Regions from separate parts of the Homo sapiens genome. Here all the other regions are linked to region 2. The links are contacts of gene promoters, found by promoter capture Hi-C in blood cells and fetal thymus (Javierre and others, 2016). All regions are on one chromosome and are shown on one strand. Each heading gives the region's core, a stretch centred on a gene start or on the middle of the fragment in contact. The rest is flanking DNA. Distances are from core to core; before and after follow the strand shown.

Evidence for each region. The method cuts DNA at HindIII sites, captures the fragments that hold promoters and counts their contacts. A CHiCAGO score of 5 or more calls a contact.
Region 1: a fragment that was not itself captured here is called in contact with the fragment with the promoter of PARD3B in region 2 in 1 of 17 cell types (total CD4 T cells); the score reaches 5.0 in total CD4 T cells.
Region 3: a contact is called between a fragment that was not itself captured here and the fragment with the promoter of PARD3B in region 2, in 2 of 17 cell types (non-activated CD4 T cells and total CD4 T cells). The highest score is 6.9, in non-activated CD4 T cells.

The regions. Positions count from the first base shown.
Region 1 is chr2:205,660,056-205,664,238 of GRCh38, reverse strand. No RefSeq gene overlaps it. Among named protein-coding and RNA genes, the nearest start is that of NRP2, 20 kb to the left of the region's middle. The HindIII fragment of the contact is 1,647 bases long and covers 446-2,092 here.
Region 2 is chr2:204,543,724-204,547,774 of GRCh38, reverse strand. It overlaps PARD3B (par-3 family cell polarity regulator beta), which reads right to left and starts at 2,300. Exons shown (of 23, transcript NM_001302769.2): 1 at 1,656-2,300. The coding sequence starts at 1,775. RefSeq lists a silencer at 2,264-2,313. The HindIII fragment of the contact is 7,233 bases long and covers 1-4,051 here.
Region 3 is chr2:205,700,459-205,704,901 of GRCh38, reverse strand. All of the region lies in intron 2 of NRP2 (neuropilin 2), which reads right to left. Among named protein-coding and RNA genes, the nearest start is that of NRP2, 20 kb to the right of the region's middle. RefSeq lists an enhancer at 4,154-4,323. The HindIII fragment of the contact is 383 bases long and covers 2,587-2,969 here.

The sequences.
Region 1 (4,183 bases), core at 20-2,519, 1.1 Mb before region 2:
ACACACAGATAAATCTTAAAAGTGCAACCACTGGGCATGTCTTCCAGAGACAAGTTAATAGGAAAGCAATGCATACATAACCAAAGGTGGTGAAAGAGACAGATAACATCTTAGCATAGGAAGGAACAGATCTGGGTGTGGTGGCTCACACCTGTAATCCCAGCACTTTGGGAGGCCAAGGCGGGCAGATCACCTGAGGTCAGGAGTTCAAGACCAGCTTGGCTAACATGGTAAAACCCCGTTTCTACTAAAAATACAAACAATTAGCTGGGTGTGGTGGTGGTGCATGCCTGTAGTCCCAGCTACTCAGGAGGCCGAGGCAGGAGAATTACTTGAACCAGGGAGGCGGAGGTTGCAGTGAGCTGAGATCACACCATTGCACTCCAGCTTGGGCAACAAGAGTGAAACTCCATCTCAAAGAAAAAAAAAAGAAGGAACAGAAGCTTTGCTAGCAGGGAGAATATGAGTCTCACCTGTAAACTCAGGGAAGTCCATTGGCAGAAGGTAAACTCTTTTAGTGTGAGATGTCTGATTTATGTTAAATATGTGATCATAACTGAAGAAATTCAGAGCGAGAGCAAATGAAAGCAAGCTGCCTCCTGCAGTCAAGACCATGCTATGTCTTGCCATCCTTCCCTCACCATAAGGACTTGAGGCCTCCCCTTACCTCATCCAGCAAGGGAAATGGGAGCAGGCAAGGACATCTGTGTATCACACCTCTAGGCACTAGAGGAGGCTTTGGGAAGGATAACAGCATGGAAAAGAAGGGGAGGTAGGAAATTTGGGAGAGCAGAAAAAAGCGAACCCAGGTGCTATGTGAGTGTGTGTGGATGGTGAGGCAGACAGTGAAGGGGGTGGCATGACGAAGGGACAGGAAAATCTATGGAGGACACTCAGTGCTTCTGGAAGAAACGGCAGTGAGCTGATGCCCCCCACATCTGGACAGTGAAACTCTATGATAGGTTATAATTGGTGTAAACAAGTTAGCTCCTCTATGGGAGTCTTCCCCAAACTATAATGTCATCAACTGAGGTTGATTGCTTTATTGGTCCCAATTCACCTCACTCACTGCAAAAGGATTATACATCTCTCCTTTGCTGGATAGAGTAGTATCTGTCCTTCGCTAAGCTGTAGTGTTCGTCCCCACCCCTTTGACATCAGACAGGGCCATATATGATGTGCTTTGGCCACTAGAACGTAACAGTGACATACGCCACTGTGAACAGATACTAGGAGAGCTATCATGAGGTTTGGACACTGCTCTTTGCCTCTGTCATGACAATGGCATGTACCAGCCAAGGGATCCTTATCAGCCTGGATCCCCAGCAGTTGTGAGGGGGAAAGTTGGGCTGCAGACGGGCCATGCTATAAGTCCCAGTGCCTTTGTGCTGTAAGTCACTGAGGTTTGGGGGTTCCAGCAGCATAGTCTAGTGAATGCAGACTGACACACCAACTTTGCATTATGTGGATGTTCCCTGTGATGCTGGAACAATGCGACAGGTGGCACTTTTCACAGTTCTGAGGGATTGTGTGCCATTGGCAGAAGAAGGTGCCCTTGACCCACACAGAATAGGTAGAGAGAGAGAGAGATCAGAAGTCTCTGGCACTCAGCTGGGCAGCTAAGCTGTCAGCTCAATGTCTCTGCCCACATCCTCCCAACGCTCCCAGGGGAAAGCCAGAATAACCCCTTGTGGATGTAAGAGAAGGACCTAGTGTCTTATTCACAATTATACAGTCTTTAAAGCAGAAATAACCCAGGGAACAGACCCCCAAATGGGAAGTTTGAGGCAGGAAGATTCTGTGGACAAAGTTTGGGAAATTCCACTGAATCAAGTGTGGCTGACAATGAAATGAGCAGTTTTCATCTAGAAGTGAGGAGGTGGCATAAAGCCAGGGTTCAGAGAGCAAAGGCTTCTGCTTTTCCAGGAACCTTAAAAAGGAGAAAAAGCTAGAAATGCCCCAGGTATTGCTACTGAGAGAATAAACTCTCTTTATGCCCTGGTAGTGGGAAATTATCTGGGTAACTGGTGACAGAGTCTTTCCAGATGGAATAGAACTTTTCTTCTTCACCTACTGGGAAACTCACCAAGCTTCAGATCTTAAACTAGGGTGTCTCATGAGCCACATGATGAGAAAAGTTTTGTGCAGTTTCTTATGATCTGTTATAGAGCCAAGGTAGAAAGACCACTGCATTTCACTGGACAGGCTATGGTGGAAGCTGTACTGGGTGGGAGGTAGCCCAGATGACCTATCAGACTCTTTCAGCTCCAATAGATTAATATTTATTATTTAATGCTACGGCTCATGACATTAAAATGTCAAAATTGACTTAATTAGGGCAAACAAGTAGAATTAAATCTGAAATGCAAGTAAAGATGAAACAAGTAGAATTGAATCTGAAATGCAAGTAAAGATGAAACAAGTAGAATTGAATCTGAAATGCAAATACACCATCTTATCTCGTTTATTCCTTTAAGCCACATCAAATCATTTATAGGAATAAAGTGGGGTATAAATAAGTGAATGAAAGAATAAAATGTTATGTTGCAGCCTAAAGCCATATTCAAACTAATACGAGTGAGCAGTAGCAAGTTTTGTGAGGTGCAAGAACATGGAAATAGAACCTTTGCTCATGGAGAAAATTCTAAGTCTTGGGTGGCGGAGGGAAAGGACTGACAGTGTGTATTAGGTTCATGAGTTCCAACGCTTCCACAAAACACTGGAAATGATTCAAAGGGAAAGTGAACCATGAGGTGGTTCCCAGCAGGCACTGGTGCGTTCCAATGAGAGACGTGTCATTGCTATGGCTTTACATTAATTTCTCATCCCAAATGTTCATTTTTGTCTCCTGAGAGGATTCTTTCCTCCAGTGTGACAAATTTTCCAATTTTGTAATGGAAGCCAGGAGAAAATGGAATTCTCTTTATAAAAATCCATTTTATAGCCAACTTTCTTGAGATGCATCTATCCCTGAAAGCAATTTCCTTCATCTGGGTAGACGTGGCTGAGGTGTTTAGGGCTGGGTAAGTGGATCACTGACAATTTGCTCTTAGAGCTTGTGGGAGATTTAACAGCAAGACCTTGGGGGGAAATGTGAGGAGGGCCGTCCTCTCCAGGCCCTTCTCAAGCTGCTCTGAGGTCTTTTTTTAGAGCAGCAATTTCACTAGAGAGTAGACAGGATGTGGGGGCGGGTGGAGCTGACAGTTGCCACGACATCTCAAGGCACCAGTGTCAGTTCTCCAGTATCTCTCCAGCATGCCCAGGAATCTAGCTGCTAAACCGCACAGCTCACCAGGTAGGTAAATGAAAGACAAGTCAACAGACCAGAGTGGTGTCAAGGTATGTCCTGCCACAGATCTGAAAGGCCACTGAGGATTTGTAGGAACATGAATGAGGTTGTATAACTAGGACTAGATCTCATGTCTGGTTGGCTCTTTGCCCTGGCTTATGTTCTAACACTGCCTCTTTGGGGGCACATTTATGATTACGTAATGGCAAAATGAAGGCGTTTGGTAGTAAATTAAATCAGTTTTATACTATGTGGGTGACTCGCATGCAGTGTATACCGCCAGGCTTTGACACATTCCAATGTGGGAAACATACTTGAAGCATAACAACTGGCTCTTCTCCATCTGTTCATGTTCCCCATTTGACTCATCCCTGCTCTGTAAATACTCTCCGACTTGCTAGCAAGTTGAACAAATTTCAAAGCTCTATGAATGAAGTGCGTGGAGGTCAGGAGGTGCCTTGCAGGAGACTTCAGAGGACATACAAACTTGCCTTACCATGAGAAACGTTTCATCCATTCGACACTTGTGAGCAAGCTCTGTTTCTCACACAAGCAAGAGGATACAAATACAGATCAGATGAGGGCTGATGGGGAAGGAAATTGGTGAAAATGTGAAAGTTTATGTCCATAACTATAGAGACTGAAAATCTACCATTGGGACTTGATAAGGAAAAATAAATGCTCACGAAGGTAATAAACGTGGATAAAATGTTGACAAGCACATAAATGAGGAGCTCTGTGATTCTTCACGGAAGCTTGATGGATATCTCAGTCTCCTCTTGCTCGTTTGCATCACGGTGTCTCAGGACGCCATCTGTGACTTGCCGTGGTGGTGACACACCATGATAGGCTTTTATGAGCATGCCACCTGCTGCCCAGCCCCACAGGATGGTG
Region 2 (4,051 bases), core at 1,051-3,550:
TCTCTTACTTGGATAGCCCCCTGTACTAAACTTCTAAATATACAAGATTTGAGGGCATAAATTATTTAATAGTTAAAAAGTAACTTCAATTTGGTAAGACAATCCCTCAATGAGATCTATTTCAATAATCTGTCTGGAGTAATGTTGTTACTATTAATCTTAGCTCACTTTCAAAAGTTAGTGAAATATGATTTAATAGACAATTGGTTACTTGTTTAAACATCAGTTAACTGAATTACATGATTTAAACAGCAAACACTATTTTAACAATGGCAAACACATATGCACGTGCACACACACACATAACATTGCAGTTGATTTTCACACAGCTTTATAAACCACTTTAATTTTTTCCCTCCTCCACCTCAATTCCATCAGTAAAGAGTTCATCTTTAGGGGTTATATTTAATATATTAATAGACCTTTCATTGTACTCTCCTCCAGTTCTTGAGTATCCAAAGCAATATGCACATGTATCTGTCCAGAGCTGAATTTTTTTTCTGTATAATAATTCTTCATGGAGGCAAAGAAGGTGCAAGTATTTTCTTAAACCCCTAAGCTATACACTTGTAAGAAACAATTACTTTTATGCTTTGGATAACCGATAAGAAGTTAAAAGAAATTAAAACTTACGTTTTTCCATCACTAGATTGACCAACCCACTATTTTAGTCACATGGCACGAGACCAAATATTAAGAGAACCATTGGCCGCTAAAACAAGAATTTGTGACTTGCCCTGTTTGAGGAGCATTTGGGACATACAAAATGTTCCATGTGAAGATTCAAAAAATTAAAAGGTTATTCAATGCCTTCCTTTAAAAGTTTCACTGAGGAAGTCCCAGAGGCCCAATGTTACCCAAATACTTGGCATAAGTTCTAGTGCCAGATATTTTCTCAACATGTATTGCACACTTAAAAAAAATTGTCACTTAATTTATACTTGTTCCTGACTTCAGCTACAGAGCTAGGAACGTCTTTCTCATTTTAATAGTCACTCAGGACCTGACAACAGCCCACACACATAGTAAATGGTCATAGAATCTGTGACATTAAACTGAAAACACTCAAAATGTAGACAGGTTGGCTAAGCAAACAGCATGCTCCCACCTGTGTTCCTGCCCAAGTCACTGAGACAGGGCAGCTCACAAGGCTGAAACTCCAAAGGCCCCATCAGTTGTAACTTCCGAGTATGTGTCACTTGCACAATCAACTTTCTAACTCCAAGGAGCCTAAGTGAGGCGGGCCTTAATGGGTCAAAAATCACACTTAGGTGAGCAGCACCTTTTAAGACGTTCCCTCAAACAAGTTCTAAACCAGTGGTTCTCAAACTTCAGTGGGCATTCCAATCACCTGGGGATCTCGTTAAAGAGCAGATCCTGAGTCGGTGGGTTTGGAGAACTGCCCATATTGGGCAGTTCTAAGAAGCTCCCAAGAGATTCCAATGCTGCAGGTCCACTCACGACCCTCGGAGCTCAAGGCCCACAAACACCCAAAGACACCCACATCACTGATATTAGCAATAGACAACAGCTGCAGCTACAGGCAGTGCCCCATAATCCCCTGGGTTTTCTGCATCCCCTGAGTGTCGCCACCGGGTCGCACCTGGCAGGTGCCTTGGCTGCAGCCGCGCCCCACTCCTCCGCGCCGCGCTCACCTTCTCCCGGGTCTTCAGGTACCGCTGCAGCGCCTGCTGGGTGAGCTCGCCGACGCGCAGCTGGCCCTCCTTGCAGGGCACCACGATGCCCGTCCTGCCGAAGCACACGGTCACTTTCATCCTGGCCCCCGGCGACCACGCCGGGCCGGGCCGAACAGGTGTCTGACCCCGCGGGCGCAGCCCCCACTCTCGGAGGACGCCCGGGGCGGGTGGGCCCAGAGACCCGGGGCGCCGCTCCCCGGAACACCCTGAGGCCCGGAGGCTCGCGGCAGCGCCCCTTCCACCTGGCCAGGCGGCAGGTGGCGGGAATCGGGGAGGGGCGGCCGCGGAAAGGGGTTACCTCCCAGGTGCCCGGCGGCCCGGGACGCGGCAGCTCCGCGGCACCGGCTCCTCCTCCTCCTCCTCCCGCTCCTACTCCTGCCCGGCCCAGGCGGCTGCTCCGCGCCCACCAAAGCGAAACTGCCGGCCCTGCCCTGTCGCTGGTCCTGGCCCTGGCCCTGGCCCTGGCGGCGTTGGCAGGGCCGGCCCCAAGCCGGGGGCTGGAGTGGGCGGCGGCGGCGGCGGCGCACGGGGCCAGAGTTGGGAGGAAACTTTTGCGCCGGCTCCCAACTCCTCTGCGGCGCCCGCGCTCTGGGCTCCTGCGGTCCCGGCGACGGCCTGGGCCCGGCTCTTAAAGGGGCCGCGGCGCTCCCGGGCCCCGCCGCACGCTGGGCGACGACGTGCCCCGGCCCTGCGGGCCAGTAACTGGAGCCCGGGAGCCTCGTCTCGTCACCTGGGTCTCTCCCTGGCTCTCTCCCTCTCGCACGCATGCACACGGAGCTCTGGGGAGTTGTAAGGGGACCTGAGGGCTACACGCTCGAGGATTGAAACCGGATCTCAGAAAGAACACCCGAGGGAAGAGCGAGGAGACTGCAGAGCTGCGCCCTTCACAGGAGGGGACTGCAGCAAGATGCAAAAGGAGCCCAGGAGCAGGTGCTTCTAGTCACGCCCACCAAAAACACCCAAGGGGCGAGGCTGCCGGGTGCGGAGATGCAGGAGTGCCCCGAGGGCCTGTTAGGAACTCGCCTTAAGCACAGCCCGTGCCGCTGCCATCAGGAGCCCTGGGATAGCAGAGCTGAAGCGAACCTTGGAGAGAACGCGCCAGTGGAAACTTTTCCTTTTACAGACCCTCGAGGACACTGAGTATTTGGCCAAAGGTCACACCCAAGACCCAGATATGATCGCGTGTGTTGACACATAGCCTTCTGGAATGCGACTACCGTTGTGCATTTTATTAGGAAAAAAAAAAGTTAACACCCTTAGGCTCATGATTTGGCAGGTGTGTATCCATCACCAATTGAAATGGGAATATGTGGGGGAAACCAACAAATTACGTTAGTTTCATTCTTAGCTCTCATGTAAATGAGCTCCTTTGAGCTTAACAACTACCCGGTAGGTAGATATTATTCTTCGCATCTTGTGCATCAAGAATGGTGCTCGGAGAGGTCAAGAGACTGAGCAGACCATGGTGTTAGTTCTGTTGAAAAGAACTCAGGTCTTCTGAGCTCAATCTCTGGTCTCTCCCTGCAGTTTTCTTAGCCATCCAGTTCATCCAGCAAGACCCTCAGGGCTGCATCATGTGTTTCTCTACAGAAGGATGTGCTCCTATGTGGACACACTTAAATTGAACGTGAATTGCCTAGGATGGTATGATAATGCAGAGGAGATTAAATTCATGGGTTTCAAGAGGTTTTTTAAAAAAATAAATTTTAGCTCATTCATACATTCAGTAAGTATATATTGGTTGTCTTCTATGTATAGAAAGTCAGTGGCAAACCAAGAGGATCACGTAAACCAAGTCCATTGTAATTTGGTTGTAAATCCAATACAAACTAATTTACATTTAAATAAACCAAAGACAGAATTGATCACCTCATAAAATCAGAAGATCCAGAGGGCACTCCATTGAGGCAAGGTTGAAAGCAGGAACTCAAACTATGTCCTCAGGGGCCAGCTAGCTCTGTCCAGCTCTTAGCTCTATCTGTTCCTCAGTGTGGTCTCCATTCTCAGGCCAGCTCTCTTCAAAGGAGACACTTTATCCTCTTTTTAGAGATGAGGAGCTGAGGCCAAAGGAAGTTAAATGATTTAGTTAAAATCTCATTCTTAGAAAGTAGCAGAGGCTGGCTTAAAACCCAGGTCATCTGATTCCAGAGTCTTCATCGTAACTGCTGTGCTGTTTCTTACATGAGAAGTACCAATGAGTGAATCAAACAAACAAATAGATACTGATGCCGTGCATTAATGTGTGGCCCTCACTTTTAATATTCGGTATTTCATGGACCTATAGAATGGTACAGAGCAAAGATTTTCCACTGATGAAATAACTTTGCATGTTGCCATCCTTCCTGCATCGTGGC
Region 3 (4,443 bases), core at 1,529-4,028, 1.2 Mb before region 2:
GAGAATTACATGGAGTTACATGGGGTGAGATGCTGGCCCTCTGGGATCTCTGGGTTCGGAGAAGGTGCCAGGGTGGAGAGGCAGAACAAGTGGGATTGTGCATGATAACATCTCAAGTGATTTTCTCAGTCAGAAGATAAAGCATATTGTTAAGAAGGGCATCTACAGCGAAGCTTGCATTGAGACAGTTACAATTGCAACACTCATTTTTAAAAACAAACTGCCCAAAGTAATTCCAGCTGCGTTTTAACCTTGGTAAGAGGAGAACAGTCTGTGAGTTGTTTTTCCCCCTGATCCATGGGTGAGGTGGAGTTGCTGGGTGGACCCTGTGGTCAAGGTTGGTAAGTGTGGGGCCAGCAGCCAGCTGCTCCCATTCGTCCACCACGTACCTGGAGGTGGATCTGTTTCTGTCATTAGGAGGATTGTTGCAATACAGAAAATTATTACTGCTCACTGGCTCCTTAGGGGAATCAGAATATTTCTGTGGTTGGGCAGGCAGTAAATAATAACGTCAGTAATAGTGTCGTGAGTGATCAAGCCAACGGCCTCTCCTCAACAAGCACAAGGCACCCTCTTGAACCACACAGAATTCTCACTATGCTTTGTTGGCTTTTCAGACTTCAACGGAGACCAGCTGAAGCCACACCTCCAACTGGGCAATCTGGCCTCCCGCCCTCTATTCATAGGAAAGAGACTTGGATTCAGAAAGTCTTGTGTAGCAGGAAATTGACAAGAGGAGCTTAATCTGAAGTGTTACCTGGACTTTCCCAGGCCAAACCCCACTTTCAGGCATTCCACTGGCGGCGGGGTGGGGGAGGTCGCTGGACATAGGGTATGAGGCTGCAGAGACCCTACAATGGACAGGGAAGGTGGGGACAGCAGAGAGTCCCCATCATCTTAGTCTTTCCTGCTTCCTGACCACCCTGTCTCCTAAGGAGATGGTGGAAGTTGTCTGGCCAGGAAATACAATTAAATAGTATTGCTCAGGCACCTCTTCACCGGGAAAAGGGTTTGTGTCAGCAAGTCACAAGGACAGCCCCTTTTAGTCTACCCTTACAATGCTCACTGGTTAAGAAATTGGGTTCAGGCATGTTCAATTATTTTGGTTCCTGAAGGCATCAAACCCTCCCTCCTTCTTGTCTTTGGGCATGCTGCTGTCTGCCTATGACACCAGCCAAACACACTCCCTGCTGCCTGGCCAAATTCTTTAGAATTCGTATAGGCGTCACCTCCTCCAGGGAGCCTTCCTTGATCTTCCCAGCTTAGGCTGGACCTGGATGCTGTGGGCCCACGTAACAGGTCCATATCATGTCCCCTGCCAAATGCATGATGCCGGGGAGGCAGACAGCACAAGAGTAAAGCAGAGATTGAAAACTAGGGTATCTGGCTTCAAAACCCTTCTCTGCCACTTATGGGAGTAGAACCTTGGGCCAGTTGCTTAACTTCTTTGAGCCCAAGTTTCTTCATCTGTAAAATGGAAAGAGTAACAGTGACTTTAGGGAAAAGAATATGATTTATTCATCACTGTATTCCCAATAATACCAACGTGCTTAGCACATAGTAGGTGTTTAATAGCTATTTCCTGATGAATGAATGAATGGTCTATTACCATTTTGTTGGTGAGAGACTCATGTCCCAAATCAGTTAGTGACATTCTTGGCCTGTGTCCTACCCCCTAAGATTATGTCATATTCCCAGAGGGACAAATAGGGAACACAGATCTGTCTGCCTTCCAACACAGATTCAGCTCATGCTGACCTATTGCCTGGCATTTCCAATGTAAAAAATATCACGAAATCACCTGCACACACCTGCCTAGCACCCTCCTAGACTAGGCGCCATGGGAGTTTAGATATGAAGTACATGCTTTGTGCCCTTGTAGAATTTACTTGCTGAGAACTCAAGATGACCACATATGAACAAAAAGCAAGGGACTCAGGCAACATCAAGTGCTCTGGGAGTTCAGAGGAAAGGGTGATAAAAGGGAACTGCAGGAAGCAAGGAAACTCAGGGGAGGAAGATGGGAGCTTGCAGCTGGACACTGTGGAGGGAGGGAAAGGAGGGCTGGAGCCCTGGGAACTCAGGGGGCTCATGCAGATGCAAGACTATGCTTGGTTGTTTGCAGGGAATCGAGGGTGTTTACTGAGCACAGGGAAACACTGCTGGCTGAATGGGGAGGGGCCAGATGACTAAGGTCTGGTCTGATCTCTCTGTTTACTATGATCAGGTTATCAACTGGGAAACTGCTACCTTTCTAAGATATCATCTCTTACTTTGGGAGAAACAGACATATCTTCTAAGATATAGAGGGCCCCTCTGGCTGTAAATAAACACAAGAGCACCTTGTTTATCTAGGACACTTAGAGGCAAATATCCAAAACCTTAAATATGCAGAATATAACGGTGTGGGGGAGTTCAGAAAAAAAGATTGTGAGCAGCTACACTGATGTTGAGAACTCCATCCTCTGTTGCTCTTACGCTTTGTCACTTGGGGATCACTCCCCAGTCCTAACTCTGCTGCAAGCTTGGCTGGCTGAAGCCAACTGGAAATGCTGGCCTTGGGATTGCACTGGCTTGAGCAAAGCTTAGGTCCCAGAACTCAAACTTCCCAAGAGACAGCAAGGGCTCCTGAAGCAAAATTGATAACCCCATAAAAAAGCAAAAACAAGTCAGAATGGGAAGGCTACAGGAGACAGGCATACTCGTAACAGGATGTGTGAAAGCAGGAGGATTGATAGAAAATAGTCCCAAACTGTCCCCTGACAAAGTCCAATGATGCTAACACAGTTGCTAACTTATTGGGCATCTACATAAAAAGGCAGAGCAATCTTGCAAGATATTTATTATTATGACAGCTTTGCAGATGAGGAAACTGAGGCCTGGGAAGTTTAAAAGGTCAATAAAAATTCAAATCTTAATCTGCCTGTTCCAATTATGGCAATACTGGCTGCTGTCACAAAAGTGAAGCTTAGAATTAAAAGCCTGAATCATTGAGAAAAAGTTGACTCCTCTCAATGTAGGTTTTAAAAAGACAGGGAAGTGCAGCACATGATTTAGAATGTTCTTTATCAGAAATCCTTTAAAAAAGAACTCTTGGAACTCTTTAAAGTTCTCTTTTAAGAACTTTAAAGGTGGATATTTCAGTATCTGGACACTTCACCTAAATGGAATGTCATTCTTCAATGATACGTGGTATATGAGATATTGCTGGGCTGAACATAGCACATACAATCATTTATGTAGACTTCCTTGAGGATTTTAGCCTAAGAAATGTTCTTTCATTTCTTGCTAGTGGGTTTTGCTCTTTCTGAGACCCATCAAGGTACCCATCTAGAAATTACCAATTCTTTTTTTTTTTTTTTTGAGACAGAGTCTCACTCTTTCACCCAGGCCGGAGTGCAGTGGCACAATCTCAGCTCACTGCAGCCTCTGCCTCCCAGGTTCAAGTGATTCTCCTGCCTCAGCCTCCAGAGTAGCTGAGATTACAGGCACGCACCACCAAGCTTGGCTAATTTTTTTTGTATTTTTAGTAGAGACGGGGTTTCACCATGTTGACCAGGCTGGTCTCGAACTCCTGACCTCAGGTGACCTGCCTGCCTCGGCCTCCCAAAGGGCTGGAATTACAGGTAGAAATTACCAGTGCTTAAAAGGACCCAGCCTCCTGGTTTTGGTTTTATTTGGTTGAGCCTCTGGGATGGGGTGGGTGCTGGGGCTGTTTGAGAACTCCTGAACAAGCTGTGTATTACATGCAGGTGGGTGTTTTAAAAATACATACATTTTAAATTTTAGAAATGGAAAAAACCACTCAACTTTGTGTATGGGTTTCTAAAACCATAACATTCAGTCTGTTGGCTGATGACTCAAGCGAAAGGCCTCTGTCTGCCGGAGCAGCAACATCCTAGCATCCTCCACTCCACAGGGAATAAAGTGGCTTCTCTCTGTTTGCCCAGACGGCCCGTAGTCTCGCCCTTTTGTCCTTTGGCTGCAGGAGTCCAGCAGTACCACAGTGGCCTCTGGTTTCTGCCCACAGCTTCTATACAGGCCCCCAAACAGCCTGTGGGTGCCCAGGATTTGCATTTCTGCAAGTGGCTGGAGGGAGGAGTCAAGGGAAGTTCACCAGAGATGGTGGCCTTGGATTGCACTGAGTCAGGCAAAGCTGCGGCTTGTGAGTGAAATTTTCCAAGCAGACAGCAAGCTTCAATGGAACAAAGTTAATAAGCAACGGTTAGGGGAAAAGGTCTATCTGGGGTTTACTCAGCAACCGTCTCAACCTTTGGGATGTAGAGTTCAAGGTATACAGGGAGCCAAGGGCCCAGGGGCCACAGCCCAGGATAAATTCTTTCATATCAGGGCCCTGTTTCCAGGCTTTGGGGCAATCTTTGCAGTTAACCCTGCACGTAGGAAGAACCCGGGCAAACACGAGGTTGGGTGTGCTGACCACTG